2 separate regions of the Homo sapiens genome follow, and region 2 is linked to region 1. The links are contacts of gene promoters, found by promoter capture Hi-C in human tissues and cell types (Jung and others, 2019). All regions are on one chromosome and are shown on one strand. The core of a region is centred on a gene start or on the middle of the fragment in contact, and the rest is flanking DNA. Distances in the headings are between cores, read along the strand shown.

Evidence for each region. The method cuts DNA at HindIII sites, captures the fragments that hold promoters and counts their contacts. A contact is called where the count stands out against the background at its distance.
Region 2: a contact is called between a fragment that was not itself captured here and the fragment with the promoter of ZNF853 in region 1, in 2 of the 25 tissues and cell types used here (lymphoblastoid cells and spleen).

Annotation. Positions count from the first base shown.
Region 1 is chr7:6,613,042-6,620,496 of GRCh38, forward strand. It overlaps ZNF853 (zinc finger protein 853), which reads left to right and starts at 2,569. Exons shown (of 3, transcript NM_017560.3): 1 at 2,569-3,145; 2 at 4,149-4,266. The coding sequence starts at 3,134. RefSeq lists enhancers at 699-1,452, 1,453-2,206. The HindIII fragment of the contact is 23,550 bases long and covers 1-7,455 here.
Region 2 is chr7:6,717,209-6,724,663 of GRCh38, forward strand. It overlaps the pseudogene SPDYE20P. Among named protein-coding and RNA genes, the nearest start is that of ZNF12, 14 kb to the left of the region's middle. The HindIII fragment of the contact is 6,899 bases long and covers 272-7,170 here.

The sequences.
Region 1 (7,455 bases), core at 1,319-3,818:
TGGCTGCAGTGAGGCCAGGTCAGAGAGGAGAAGGAGGGATGGGCAGATGGGGATATGGCAAAGGAAGTTTGGCTGTCAAGGGCAGGAGAGAGAAGTGGGTAGCTCTTTTATGTTTTACAGACAGTCTTTTTTTTTTTTTTTTTTTTGAGACGGAGTCTCACACTGTCGCCAGGCTGGAGTGCAGTGGCGTGATCTCGGCTCACTGCAACCTCTGCCTCCTGGGTTCAAGTGATTTTCCTGCCTCAGCCTCCTGAGTAGCTGGGACTACAGCATGCGCCACCACGCCAAACTATATATATATATATATATATATATTTTTTTTTGTATTTTTATTAGAGACAGGGTTTCACCATGTCGGCAAGGATGGTCTCTATCTCTTGACCTCATGATCTGCCCACCTTAGCCTCCCAAAATGCTAGGATTACAGGCGTGAGCCACCGTGCCCGGCCAGCAGACAGTCTTGCTCTGTCGCCAAGGCTGGAGTGCAGTGGCATGATCATGCCTCACTGCAGCCTCCAAAGCCAGGGCTCTCACGATTCTCCTGCCTTGGCCTCCCAAAGTGCTGGGATTACAAGCATAAGCCACTGCGCCTGGCCCGGGTAGCATGTTTTTAAGATGGGAGAGCCCTGAGGATGTGTAAATCCTGTCAGAAAGAAGCCAGTGGAGGGAGAGGATAAAGACCTGAGGAGGGAGGGGCTCCTCAGGGCATGAGGGTTTGCAGGAGGCTAGAAGAGGCAGGTGCACACCTGCTCTGATCTTAAACTCCTGCCCATATCCTCCTCACCTTATCTGCTCGTCCTTATCCTGCCTAGCAGGCTGTCATCTCCACTTCACAGACGCAAGGCAGTCATTTGCCTGCAGTTACCTGGCTGCAAAAGGTCCCATGACCCTAGATGACTCTGTCTCCAAAGCCAGGCTCTTGCTGCACTTTTTCTAGCCTGGGGCAGAAGCCACCAGAGTGCAGGCTTTTCAGGCAAGGGCCAGAAAGGAAGCCTGAAACTCCAGTGCCTGTGGGGGCCAGAGAGATTCCAAAAACAGGACAAGGTGGCCACCTGTGCCACAGCAGTGTGAGCCCAGGGACAGGAGGAAGGGAGGGGGCTGTGAACCCTGAGGGCTCTTGTCCCCCACCAGGGGGGCATTCCTGCTGCACCCCAGGAGCACCTCCCAGATTCAAGCGATTCTCCTGCCTCAGCCTCCAGAGTAGCTGGCGTTACAGGCATGTGCCACCATGCCCGGCCAATTTTGTATCTTTAGTAGAGATGGAGTTTCTCCATGTTGGCCAGGCTGGTCTCCAACTCCAGACCTCAGGTGATCTGCCCGCCTCGGCCTCCCAAAGTGCTGGGATTATAGGCGTGAGCCACCGCGCCCAGCATGTTTGCTTGTTTTTAGATGGAGACAGGGTCTCACTCTATCACCCAGGCTGGGGTGCAGTGGCGCGATCATAGTTCACTGCAGCCTCGACCTCCTCCCGGGCTCAAGTGGTCCACCCACCTTGGCCTCCAAAGTAGTTGGGATTACAGGCTACTTTTCAGTAGCCCAGCTAATTTTTTAAAAACCTCTTTTGTAGAGATGGGGTCTTGCTATGTTGGCTAGGCTGGTCTCAAACTACCAGCCTCAAGTGATCCTCCCGAAATGCTGGGTTTACAGGCGTGAAGTACCATGCCCTGCCCCCAGATCTTTGGTTTTTTCTAAAGAATTTGAGCATCCCAATTTGAATTTGAATTCTCCAGGTTAGAGAGGTTTGTGCACCGAGAACAGGAAAGTTAGGTGGTGCAACATTAAGACGGGGTTAGGGAAGGCCTCCCTTGGAGAAGACCCCTGACCCAGGCAGGAATCCACTTGCCAAGTAGGGAAAGAGGAGAGGAGAGGGTGAGGGAGGTGGGAGGCCTGACCACCAGCCTTGTGGTCAGCGAAAGGCCGCAGGGGCGCTGGGCGGGAGGATTCCAGCTCTGCCAGTTCTCCACGGTGGCCTCATTTGATCTATGCAGGTCACAGTCCCTGATCGGGGGAGGGAGGCACACACTCCCTACTGGCCTGCCCTCCCCAGCCCCGGGGTCTAGGAGGAGGGCTCCACGGTGCGGACCGGGGTGGCCTCTCCAGGGCCCGCTCGGGCCGGGCCCGGATGGCGCCTACTCCCTCTCCGAGTGCCATCGAATTGTGTGCTAATTAGCCACAATTTGCACCGCGGCAGGGGCGCCCCGAGGCCACGCCTGCCCTCTAGGGGGTGGCAGGGATCGGGTTGGGTACCCCCCACCCAGACACCCAGGCAGTGACAGTCGCCAACCCCGTGGCGCGAGGACACGCGCAGCAGGGATGCGGCACAGCGCGCGCTGCGCTCGGCACCGGCCAGCCCGGGACGCCCCAGGGGCCGCCGCATCGTGTCCCCCGGGCCGGGTGAGTGGCCGGGCCGGGAATGGTTAAGCCCACCGAGCTGCGGCTGCCTAGAGCGGCGGCGGCGACGGCGGCGGCGGCGGCGGGGGCCGGGGCGCGGGGGCGCGGCGGGCGGGCAGGGGCGGGGGACAGGATGCGGATGCCGGGGGGACTTCCTGTGCCGGCCCCCGCGCCCCCGCCCCCGGCCCGGCCAGCGGCCCGCACGGACGCACTCCCGGGCGGGCGGGCGAGCCCAGGGGGACCCGGCCTTGCCGCGGCGCCCGCCCCGCCCCCGCCCCGGCCCCCGCGCGGCCCGGCCCAGGCCGCCCGCAGGCTCCGGGCACCTGTAGCCCCCGAGGACCCGCGTCGCCTGGCCGCCGCCGACCCCAGGCGGGGCCACCCCGTGGTGCCGACCCCGGGCGCCGGCCTGGATCCCGCTGCCCGCGATGGTCCCGGGGGGCCGGCCCTGAGCCCCGCGCGGGATTCGGGGCCCTGCCTCCCGCCCCAGCCCCCGCCGGAGAGTCTCCACCAACTTCTGCTCGGCCGCTCCTCTCAGCCCCTTCCCTTGGCCCAGGGCGACCTCGGCAGCCCAGAGGGCGTGGACCCTCCGGAGTGCCCAGAAAGCCCCCGGGGTGGCCCTGCGCCTCCTGGCTCTTTCTGGATGGAGGCGCCTCCGGAAGGAGCCGGCTGCACGCCGTGGCCTTCACCTCGCAGCCTCTGCTGACCACACCTCCCTAGCGCAGAGGCTGCCCGGGAGCAGGAAATGCTCCACCAGGTGAGGCCCAGGGGGTCGTTGGCGCTGGGCAACCGGGGACGCGTCCCTTGAGAGAGTTTGGACTGGATGGCACGAGTCGGCCTGTTTAGGGGAGAGGGGCCAGCTCTGCACGGGCCAGGGTGGACTCTCAGGAGCGCCTGGGCACAGGGCCAGGCCGTGGGTGACAGTGCTCTGGACACCTGCCTTGCCCGGGAGCTGGGGTGGCAGCTGACACACGTGGCCTGCTGGCGGCCTTCTCAGAGCAGGCCAGGAAGGCAATAGAATGGAAGGGCGCCAGGCGCAGTGGCTCACTCCTATAATCCCAACACTTTAGGAGGCCGAGGCAGGAGGATCGCCTGAGGCCAGGAGTTCGAGACCAGCCTTGGGCAACATCATCTACAATATAAAAAAACATAAAAATTAGCTGGGGGTGATGGCACGCACCTGTAGCCCCAGCTACTCAGGAGGCGGAGGCAGGAGAATCGCTTGAACTGGGGAGACGGAGGTTGCAGTGAGTCCAGATCGCACCACTGCACTCCAGCCTGGGTGACAGAGTGAGAATCCGTATCAAGAAAAAAAAAAAAAAGTATTTAATAAAAAAAGAATTGAAGGAGGCAGGGAGGATGTTGATGGACAGTCTCTCTTTGGCCCCAGAGCTCCCCGCCCTGAATGTCCCTTTGGTGACTCTAGCTTTCCTCCCTTGTGAAGGGCTGATACCCACAGTTGTGTCTCTGTGGGGCTACCCCACTCTCCATCCCGCTGTGAAAAGTCAGGAGAGGCAGTCCTGCCTCTATGCAGGTGACAGCCTCTGGTGCTGTCTGCCAACTCCCCAGTCCTGAGCCTCCAGGCCGCCGGCACTCCCCGTTCCCCGTTGCGGGGGACAGTCCTATAGTTGCAGCAGGTATGGAGCTGACCGCTCTGGGTGGCCCGAGGCAGAGGTGGAGGGCCTTTGGGGGCCTGTGGGCACCTGGCGGGGGTCAAAGCACTCCAGCCTGGCTAAACTGCTTCCTTCCTTTCAGCACAGCCGACTCCCGGGAATCGGGGTCTGACCGCCAGGATGGAAGTGGGGCCAGCCACCGAGACCTTCGTGCTGGAACTTCAATGTCTTGAGGATGGGGGCCCAGGGCCTGACACCCTCTCAGGTGAGGGCCTCGGGGGATCCCTTGACAGAGCCTCATGCCTGCCTGCTGTGGCAGAAAGAGGCTCAAGGGTGGCGGGCAGCCTGCACAGACTCACACCAGCCAACCTCAGCTGCATTGAGTAACACCAGCAGCTCTCCCTTGAGATTTTCCAAGGTGGCTGTGTCAGGCAGGCTGAGGCCAGGCTGGTGAGGGGCTCCCCGCTCCCCACATGGGTGCTGACTGGACTTAACACTCACACGCGCTGCTGGCTGGAACTCATTGCTGTGTTTCCTGGCAGCCAGAGGGCCTCCACCATCCTCCCACCTGGCCCCAGCTCCTGAGTCAATTTCCACTCAATTTCCCGGATCCGATTCAGGTACTAATAGGCTCTCTTCCTCTGCCCCTCCTGCCCCAGATGTTGGCTCCCTGGCTTCTTCTCCCCTGTGGCCTCGTAACCTTTTCCACTTTAGCTTGACCTCTGCTTGCATCTGTTTTTCTCTACCTGATGCCCAGGGGCAGATGTGGTACTGCAGAACCTTCCAAGACCTCTTCCTCTGGGACCCACTCTGGGCAAACCTTCTCTGGTGGCCACACTCATGAGAGCCAGTTTCCATTCTGTGCTTTAAGGGTGCTGAGTGAGGGCCTGGGGCAGGGCGGGACAGAGCTTGAAAAGGACCAAGGGAATTGGAGGGGGTGGGATGGGGATGTGTGGAGTCAAGAAGGACCGTTCTGACCGAGCATGATGGCTCATTCCTGTAATCCCAGCACTTTGGGAGGCCGAGGCGGGCAGATCAGTTGAGGCCAGGAGTTTGAGACCAGCCTGGCCAACATGGTGAAACACTGTCTTTACTACAAATACAAAAATGAGCTGGGTGTGGTGGGCACCTGTAATCTCAGCTACTCGGGAGGCTGAGGCAGAAGAATCACTTGAACCCAGGAGGCAGAGGTTGCAGTGAGCCAGGATCATGCCACTGCACTCCAGCCTTGGTGACAGAGTGAGAGTCCGTCTCAAAAAAAAGAAGAAGAGGAAAAGAAGACCCTTCTGACTTGTAAATTTACCTGACAAAACTTTGGGAGGGTATACACGTCAGACAACACTGGACTAGATGTTCACTAAAATGCCTTTGTTAAAAATGCTGAGGTCAGGCACAATGGCTCACACCTGTAATCCCAGCACTTTGGGAAACCGAGGCAGGTGGATCGCTTGAGCTCAGGAGTTCGAGACCAGCCTGTGAAACATGGCAAAACCCCATCTCTACAAAAAGTTTAAAAAATTAGCTAGGCGTGGTGTTGTGTACCTATAGTCCCAGCCACTTGAGAGGCTGAGATGGGAGGATCGCTTGAGCTTGAGAGGTTGAGGCTACAGTGAGCTGAGATTGCGCCACTACACTCCAGCCTGGGTGACAAGAGTGAGATCCTGTTTAAAACAAACAAACAAACAAAAACTGAAATTGCTGCCCCAGGGAGTCAGAGTGGCCTGTGGTCAAGACTGTGCCAGAAAAGAGGAGACTCAACACAGAGGCATGATCTGTCTCATTCCTCCCAGAAGAGGTGGGAGAAAGGAGGGTCCATGAGACATTGGACTTGCTGGGGGGACAGTTTTCACCCTGTCTTCTACCATGTGCTTCCCCCCAGCCAATGTCAGTGTCTATGAAAAGCACGCTCACGGATCTGTTAGCCTAACCAAAGGTTATTAGGAATATTTTACTAGAGGAAATTATATGCATACAGATCTCCCTTGGTGGATTTTTTTTTTTTTTTTTTTTTTTTTGAGACAGAGTCTCACTCTGTTGCCCAGGCTGGATTGCGGTGGCTCAATCTTGACTCACTGCAACCTCCACCTCCTGGGTTCAAGCAGTTCTCCTGCTGCAGCCTCCCGAGTAGCTGGGACTATAGGTGCCTGCCACCATGCCCGGCTAATTTTTGTATTTTTAGTAGAGACAGGGTTTCACTATGTCCCTTGGGTTGTTGTTTTTGTTTGTTTGTTTGTTTGTTTGTTTTTTTGATAAGGAGTCTTGCTCTGTCGCTGGGCTGGAGTGCACTGGCGTGATCTCAGCTCACTGCAACCTCTGCCTTTCAGGTTCAAGTGATTCCCCAGCCTCAGCCTCCCGAGTAGATGGGACTACAGGCGCACACCACCACGCCCGACTAATTTTTTGTATTTTAGTAGAGATAGGATTTCGTCATGTTGGCCAGGATGGTCTCAATCTCCTGACCTCGTGATCCATCTGCCTCGGCCTCCCAAAGTGCTGGGATTATAGGCGTGAGCCACCGCGCCCGGCCATCCCTTGGTTTTATTAAATCAATATATTCTTGGAAAAATGGCCAGAAAGCAAACTTTTATAAATCAAAGCATTGTCTTCCATTACAAAATGGAAAACATATGATGTTATAGGGAGAAGAGATGTTGAAATCAGAGTTGGGAACGGAGAAAGCCTCCTCAAGTCACATGTAGAAAGAAGGATTGGGATTTTCCAGTAGCACAATAGTAATACTCAAAACGAGAATCTCATGGTGTACACGGTGCGGAAAGAGAAGCGTAGTAACGGAGTGGTGCTGTTTTTGCAGGGCCTCCCAGGTTTATGCCTCCCAAAGTGTTGCGATTACAAGCATGAGCCACCACGCCCAGCCTAGTTAGTCCTTTGTATTCCTGAATGACAATCTCAAACAGTCCCAGTCTCCTTGGTATTTTTTTGTTACTTTGCAAACCAATCCTAACCTTCAGAGAGAGGGAATTTTCAAGCACCTACCAGGCTCCAGGTACTATGCCAGGGCTCTCCTTGTTGTACTGTTTAAGCAGATGGTGTGGGTATCACTGAGCTATTTTGTAGACAGGACTGTGAGCCTGCAGGAGGTTGTATACCTGCCGACTGGTAGAGTTAGGTTCTGAACTGAGAACTTCCTGTCTGAAACCTAGTGGTCTCTCTGACACTTTGGTGATTTTGGGAAACTACTTGTGGTAACACCTCCGGGCAGCTTTATATAAATTCTTTATTATTTACAGAGAAGGATAATTTCATTTATTTAAGGTGTGGCTGTAAGGTCGGAGTTCAGCATGGGGTTGATGGCTTGGCCGTTGGGACAGCCAGTTCAGTGGTTTCTACTGGAGGGTGATTAAGCGCAAGAGACTTCTCAGGATGGTCAGGGAGCCCCCAGCATCCCTGCTAGTGCCAGTGCCGAGATCAGAGCATGGGGCCTGTGTAAAGGGAA
Region 2 (7,455 bases), core at 2,471-4,970, 110 kb after region 1:
GTCACATTATAATAGGATATAACTGGAGATCTACGGGCGTGCAGAAGTTGGAAGATGAGGGAAGGCATGACAGAGGCTGTGGGGTGAACTGACTTCAAGGAATGGGTCCTTCCCTTCAGAACCACATGTGTGTGGGACATCCAGACAGAAAACACAAACGCAAAGTCAAGTGGAGGACATTTGGAAGGAGCAGTGAAGCCAAGCCAGGAAACACCAAGAAGGCGAGCCAGTGTGGTTGTAGAGATTGTAGAGAGGGTGGAATTGGCACTGTTACCCTGGCCTCGATTTAGAAAGATGTCAGCTAAGGAGGTTGTTCAGGTGGGCAGTGAGGGCATCGTGCCGTGGAAAGATGTTCAGGCTGCACTAGGGAGCCCCCTGGCTTGGGGAGAGACTCCAGGAGACCCCAGCAGGGAGCATTTGACAGTGGATTCGAGTGATGCGAGGGGGACCTGAACTGTGGCCTCTGTCGTGGGAACCCGGAGGAGGTCGATGGCATTTGTGGTTGATGTGGGAAGGAGAGAGAGAGAAGAACCAGAAACGTCTGCTTGCTGGGGGAAGTGTCGTGTCCGCTCCTCCGCTCCTTTTCTTCTCCCCTTAGGAGCAGTTTATGTTTCCTTTTGTTTTATTCTTTTATTTGTACACTGGCATTGGAGTTTGTTTTTTTTTGCTTTTTTTTTTTGGAGAAAAAGTCTCACTCTGTCACCCAGGCTGGAGTGCAGTGGCTCAACCTTAGCTTACTGCAACCTCCACCTCCTGGGTTCAAGGGGTTCTCTTGCTTCAGCCTCCCAAGTAGCTGGGATTACAGGTGCACACCACCATGCCCGGCTAATTTTTCTATTTTTAATAGAGATGGGTTTGGCCATGTTGGCCAGGCTGGTCTCGAACTCCTGACCTCAGATGATCCGCCTGCCTGGCCCTCCCAAAGTGCTGGGATTACAGGCGTAAGCCACCGCTCCCAGCCTGAGTTTCTTTTTAGAAACAACAGTCTAAGAACAAGATAGTAAAATCCTGTCTTTTTTGTACACAGAGTAAAGTGGACAAATAGGTGAAAGAATAAATGAAAGGCTGGAATCCCACCTTCCTCTGCTGTCCCAGAGCATTGGATATTGACCGATAGGAGGCAGCAAACCACTCACAGAGCCAGGAAGAAATAGATGCGTTGGTATTGCCAGGAGAAGGGTCTGGCCCGGCTAAAATACGCTGACCATAGCCAGGAGATACTGATGGAGAGAAAGGAACACAGAGAGGTCACATCTTGGAAGAGGAAGATTGTGGAGAGGGGGAATGAGGGTCTGGGGAGGGGCTGCCCATCAGAGAAGGGACTTCAGTGTTGGGGTGACTGTACTCATTTGGAAATAGCAGGGTGGAGGGGTATTCGATGGTCGGATGCAAATCCGAGGGAGGAAGGGATGTCGGTGATGCTCCCAGGATGGTGGGCTCCGATGGGATCTTTGGTGGGGGCGTGTCTAGGTCAGCTGGTGTCAGGAGGGTCTTTTGTGTGCCAGGCAGAGAATTGTCTCAAAGAGCTGAGAGTAGAGGGGCCAGGAGCTTCAGGGCTGCGGTCAGACTGTGGACCAGGGCTCAGATCCTAAAGGACCCATAGGAGAGGCAGGGGCTATTCATTCACTCGGCAAGAGACCAGCAGAGTCCTGAGGGAGATGCTGACAAATCATAAAAAGACCAAGAATAGCCGGGAGTGGCGGCTCAGGCCTGTGATCCCAGTACTTTGAGAGGTGGAGACAGGAGGATCACATGAGCCCAACAGTTTGAGAACAACCTGGGCAATGTAGCGAGACCCTGTTTCTACAAAGATTTCAAAAATTAGTTGAGCATGGTGGCATGTGCCTAGTCCCAGCTCCTCAGGAGGCTGAGGAAAGAGAATTGCTTGAGCCCAGGAATTAGAGGCTGCAGTGAGCTATGATCATGCCACTGCACTCCATCTTGGGGAGCAGAGCTAGACTCTGTCTCAGAAAAAAGTGTGGGTGCCAAGACTCAAGATTGTGGGAGCTGGTGGGGCACAGTGGCTGACGTCTGTAATCTCAGCACTTTGGGAGGCCAAGGCGGGTGGATCACCTGAGGTCAGGTGTTCAGGACCAACTTGCCCAACATGGCAAAACCCCGTCTCTACTAAAAACACAAAAATTAGCCAGGCGTGGTGGTTCACATCTGTAATCTCAGCTGCTTGGAGGCTGAGACAGGAGAATCGCTTGAACCTGGGAGGCTTCGGCTGCAGTGAGTCAAGATTGAGACACTGCCCTCCAGCCTGGGCAACAGAGGAAGACTCTGTCTCACAAAAAAAAAAAAAAAAAAAAAAAAAAAAAAAAGACCGTAGGAGCACCTGGTGGGAGGTGGTGGAGGGAGAACTGTGGGTTTGGAAGCTGCGCCCTCCCTCCGGTGGTGCGTTGAAGCAGGAACACAGTTACATGGAGAACAACCTTACGTTGTCTGACACCCTCAGATCTTTGTCCCAGGCCAGGAATCTTTTAATCACAGGATCCTCTGTTATTAGAGGGCAGATGTCAGCATGAGAAGCTTTCTGTGGGAGCAGCAGGGCAGCGAGAAGTGTGCCTCCCGGGGGGGAGGTCTCAGGATTGCTGCCATGGGCGAGGTGGATGGGAGGGGGGAGAATGACTTTCACTGGGCAAAGGAGAGAGGCTCCTGCTCTGAGACTCCCCTGAGAAGAGGCCGAAGGAGGCCCTGGGTGTGAGAATCTACGGGATGTAGAGCTGGGAATAAGCCAGGATGCCCTCCCAGCAGACACGGAGGGACCACTGCAGAGTCATAAAGGAATTCCCATCATTTCCTCATGAGACAGTCACATCAGGGTGTGACCATGGCCTTGGTATCCCCCACTATGGATGGAGACACTTAGGTTTAGAAAAGTCAGTAAGAGACATTAAGTTTCAGAGAGCACAGCTGAAACCACTTTCTTTGTTTATTGATTTTGTTTTTCTTTATTTGATTTTTATTTTTATTTATTAATTTATTTTGAGACAGAGTCGTGCTTTGTGGTCCAGGCTGGAATGCACTGGCGTGATCTTGGCTCACTGCAACCTCTGCATCCCGGGTTTAAGCGATTCTCCTCTCAGTCCCCTGAGTAGCTGGGATTACAGGCATGAGCTACTGTGCCCAGCCTTGGTTTTTCTTTTGAGACAGGGTTTTGCTCTGTCACCCAGGCTGGAGTGCAGTGGTGCAGTCATAGTTTACTGCAGCCTCAAAGTCCTGAATTCAAGCAATCCCCTTGCCTCAGCCTCCCAATATGCTGGTATCTCAGGCGTAAGCTCACCTGGCCCAAAACAAAGCTTTCTTATCCCAAGCACTGACCTTTGTCAAGTCTAGCCTAATCCTCTATTGTCTCCTAAGCGTCCCTCATGAGTGATCACTTCTGAGTCCTCCCACATGGAGAGCTCACCCAATGGGGGCATATTTTTCCCATTGGAAAATAGTGGTTATTGGAAGTTTCCTCTTTTTTAGAAGAACAGGATTGGAGGTGCTCTCTGGAGTGTCCTCCTACCAATCTGATTATTGAAGGCCTCGTGGTGCTCAGGGAGCACGAGGTGACACTCGCTGTTGCTTCAGCTTCATCTTGAGCCCACACAGCATCTCCACCACCCAGGTCTCCTCAGGCTCGGGGGTGAGCTTCTTCTCTGGCTCCTCCTCACATTTGTCCAACCACTCCCTCTTCCTTTTCCAGCAAAAATACCTACATGGGGGGCTGGGATCTACCCCAGGGGCTGAGTAAAGAAGCCAGGCCATGGTGTAATGCTTCTGCAACTGACCACCTTAGACCCCGACCCCAAACCCCAAACCACTCTCCATCCTCCCCAGCTTCGCAGACTGCTGGCTTCTCCAAGCCATCTTTCTGGATTTCTCCTCTGCTGAGCCCCATGTGCCGCTCCTTCCCCTCCCCGTTCTTCCATCTCTCTGTCCTCACAACACTTCCTCATGTCCTTCCCTGGTCCCTGGCTCTCTGAGTCCCTCCCTTTTTTTTTTTTTTTGTTTTGAGACAGAATCATGCCTTGTCTCCTGGGCTGGATTGTAGTGGTGCAATCTCAGCTCACTGCAACATCCATCTCCCAGATTCCACTTATTCTCCTGCCTCAGCCTCTCAGGTAGCTGGGATTACAGGTGCCTGCGATAATGCCCAACTCAATTTTGTACTTTTAGTAGAGATGGGGTTTCACCATGTTGGCCAGGCTGGTCTCAAACTCCTGGCCTCAAGTGATCTGCCTGCCTTGGCCTCCCAAAGTGCTGGGATTACAGGTGTGACCACTGCACCTGGCCTGAATCTGAATTTCTCCATTCTTCCCACACACCCGCCTCAGGTTCTTCTTCCTGACCTCTGACCTTTTTTTTTTTTTTTTTTTTTTGAGACAGCGTCTCACTCTCTCACCCAGACTGGAGTGCAGTAGCGCAATCTTGGCTCACTGCAACCTCTTCCTCCCAGCCTCAAGCGATTCTCCTGTCTCAGCCTCCCGAGTAGCTGGGATTACATGTGCGCACCACTAACGCCCAGATAGTTTTTGTACTTTTAGTAGAGATGGGGTTGGCCATGTTGGCCAGGCTGGTCTTGAACTCCTGACCTCAGGTGACCCGCCCACCTCGGCCTCCCAAAGTGTTGGGGTTACAGGCATGAGCCACTGCGCCCGGCCCCCTTCCTTCATCTTAGTCAATCCTATCCTACCTCTTCTTCCTCCAGTCCCCTCACCTGATGGTCCCGACACTTCATCATCCACCACCTCCTGGAGGGGTACCCTGAGGCGCTGGGCTGGGGGCTCTGCTCCTCATCCTGGGGGTGCGGTTGATGGCTGGTTATGATCTTTCCCAAAATCTGTCCCATCCCACGGAACCTAGTCTCTGTTCTGTCCAAGGCCTTCTTCTGGACTCTGCTAAGACCCAGAAGAGTGTGTTGTCAATTTTCGAGGCTGGGAGAAGTCAGGAGTGGAGACCAGCTCTGAGAAGGTTGTCCAGCTGAGCTCCCAGGAGCCCACAGAGTCCAGTCCTTCCAATCAGGAAGGTTGGAATCTCTGATGTCATTGGTCATTCCAACCTGGCAACCAGTTTGAAGAAAAACACATGTAACTGCCAGGCTGATCTTTGTCCTGGAGATCGTGGGTGAATGGTATCTCCTGCCACTGTCCCAACCTCAGGCACTGTCCAAAAGCATCTTTAGGGTCTCCACATCCCTCTGTTCCCTGTCCCAGCAGAGGCTGTGTCCTCTCCACTCAAAGCCTGAAGCATGGTGGGGTCTCCTCTTCTCTGTACATGCCCATTTCAGAGTCCAGTCTGGTGGGAGAGGGAACAGGGTGGGAAAGAAAACTAGGCTAAGCAGAAACTATGAAACCTTACAAGAGTGAGATGATCATGTACAAGAGATCCCAGGAACATTGACTTGATGAAAATGTCACATCAGAGCACTCAGTTTGGCAGAGCTTTTCTGCCGAATGTTTACTGACATTCACTGTCCGAGATTCTATACTGGGGGTACAAGCGTCCTCTGCCCTAAGGCATCTTTGAGTCCAGAGACATCTTGAGGCCTGAAAGTCATAGGAAACTGTCCAGGAGCTCACACATATTTCCAATGGTGTCCCCAATTTCAGGGAGTCCATGGATTACCTAAAGCCAGCCCCTCCAGTTTGGCTAACAAACTCTAGTCTATATATCAAGTTTTGTATCATATGTATTGCTCTGAACTCAGAAATTTCCCTACCATTTATGGATTCTAGGAATAAAATATCGCATGTACAAAAAGGCTAAGTCAAAAAATCTCAGCTGTGCACAGTGGCTCATGCTTGTAATCCCAGAACTTTGGGTGGCCAAGGGAGGAAGACTGCCTGAGGCCAGCAGTTCAAGATCAGTGTAGGCAACATAGCAAGAGCCCATCTCTAAAAAAACAAAACCAAACCAAATTAGCCAGGTGTGGTGGCTGGCACCTGTGTTCCACCTACTTGGGAGACTCATGTGACAGGAAGATCGCTTGAGCCCAGGAGTTAGAAGCTGCAGTGAGCTATGATCTGGCCACTGCACTCCAGTCTGGGCAACACAGCAAGACGTTGTGTCAAAAAAATTTTTTTTGATACAAAATAAAAGAGTTGCATGACATTCAGAGACCATCCGAAAAACCTGTGGGTTCCTGGCCGGGCTCAGTGGCTCATGCCTGTAATCCCAGCACTTTGGGAGGCCAAAGGGGGTGGATCACTTGAGGTCAGGAGTTTGAGACCAGCCTGGCCAACATGGTGAAACCCCATCTCTACAAAAAATACAAGAAATTAGCCAGGCATGGTGGTAGGTGCCTGTAATCCCAGCTACTCAGGAGGGAGGGCTGGAGAATCACTTGAACTCAGGGTGCAGAGGTTGCAGCAAGCCAAGATCACACCATTGCACTCCAGCCTGGGCAACAAGAGCAAAACTCTGTCTCAAAAAAAATAAACAAAGAACGTGTGAGTGAGTTCCCACACGGCTTCCTAATGGGCTGTGGCTCTCCTAGGAGTCTCTTGCTCATGGGAAAGACACAGACTGAGTGAAGAAGCAGATCCCATTGCTGTGGAAGTCCCATTGTTAGGAAACTCTGCTTTTCTGGAGTTCAAATTTGCATTCATGATGCTTTAAACCGTCAGAGCTGGGTAGGTCCTCCTACAACAAACAGTTTGCTCTCTCTCTCCTAGTTAACAGGCTTTCAAATATTAGAAGATCAATGTCCTGACCCCGTTAAAATTGCTCTTTTGTGGAATGAAAAGCTCTGATTTAACCCGTCTTCAAGCCTGGTTTGCATATTCCCCTCTCTTCTGGCCACCTTGTCTAGACACACTACACTGAGGCAGTGCCCATCTTAAATGATGTTGATACGTTGTCAAAAAATGGGCGAAGCAGGTGCGGTGGCTCATGCCTATAATCCTACCACTTTAAGAAGCCAAAGCAGACAGATCACCAGAGGTCAGAAGTTCAAGACCAGCCTGGCCAACGTGTTGAAATCCGTCTCTACTAAAAATACAGAAAAAATGAGCTGGGCGTGGGAGTGCACATCTGTAATCCCAGCTACTTGGGAGGCTGAGGCAGGAGAATTGCTTAAACCTGGAAGGCAGAGGTTGCAGTGAGCTGAGATTGCGCCACTGCACTCCAGCCTGGGTGACAGAGCGAGACACCATCTCAAAAAAAAAAAAAAAAAAAAAAAGGCTAAACAGCCCAGGTTTGGTCTGATATGTTCAGAAAAAAGCAAAACAGCCACCTCTCGCCTTCTCTTTTCCCGCAGTGATGCAGTTGAATACAGCAATGGCTGCAGGTATGCTGCAGAAATACCATTCAAGTGACACAGAAGGGCTTTCCTGGCCGGACACAGTGGTCACTCCTGTAATCCCAACACTTTCGTTGGCCAAGGTGGGAGGATTTCTTGTAGCCAGGAGTTGGAGGCTGCAGTGAGCTGTGATCCCACCACTGCATTCCAGGCTGGGCCTCAGA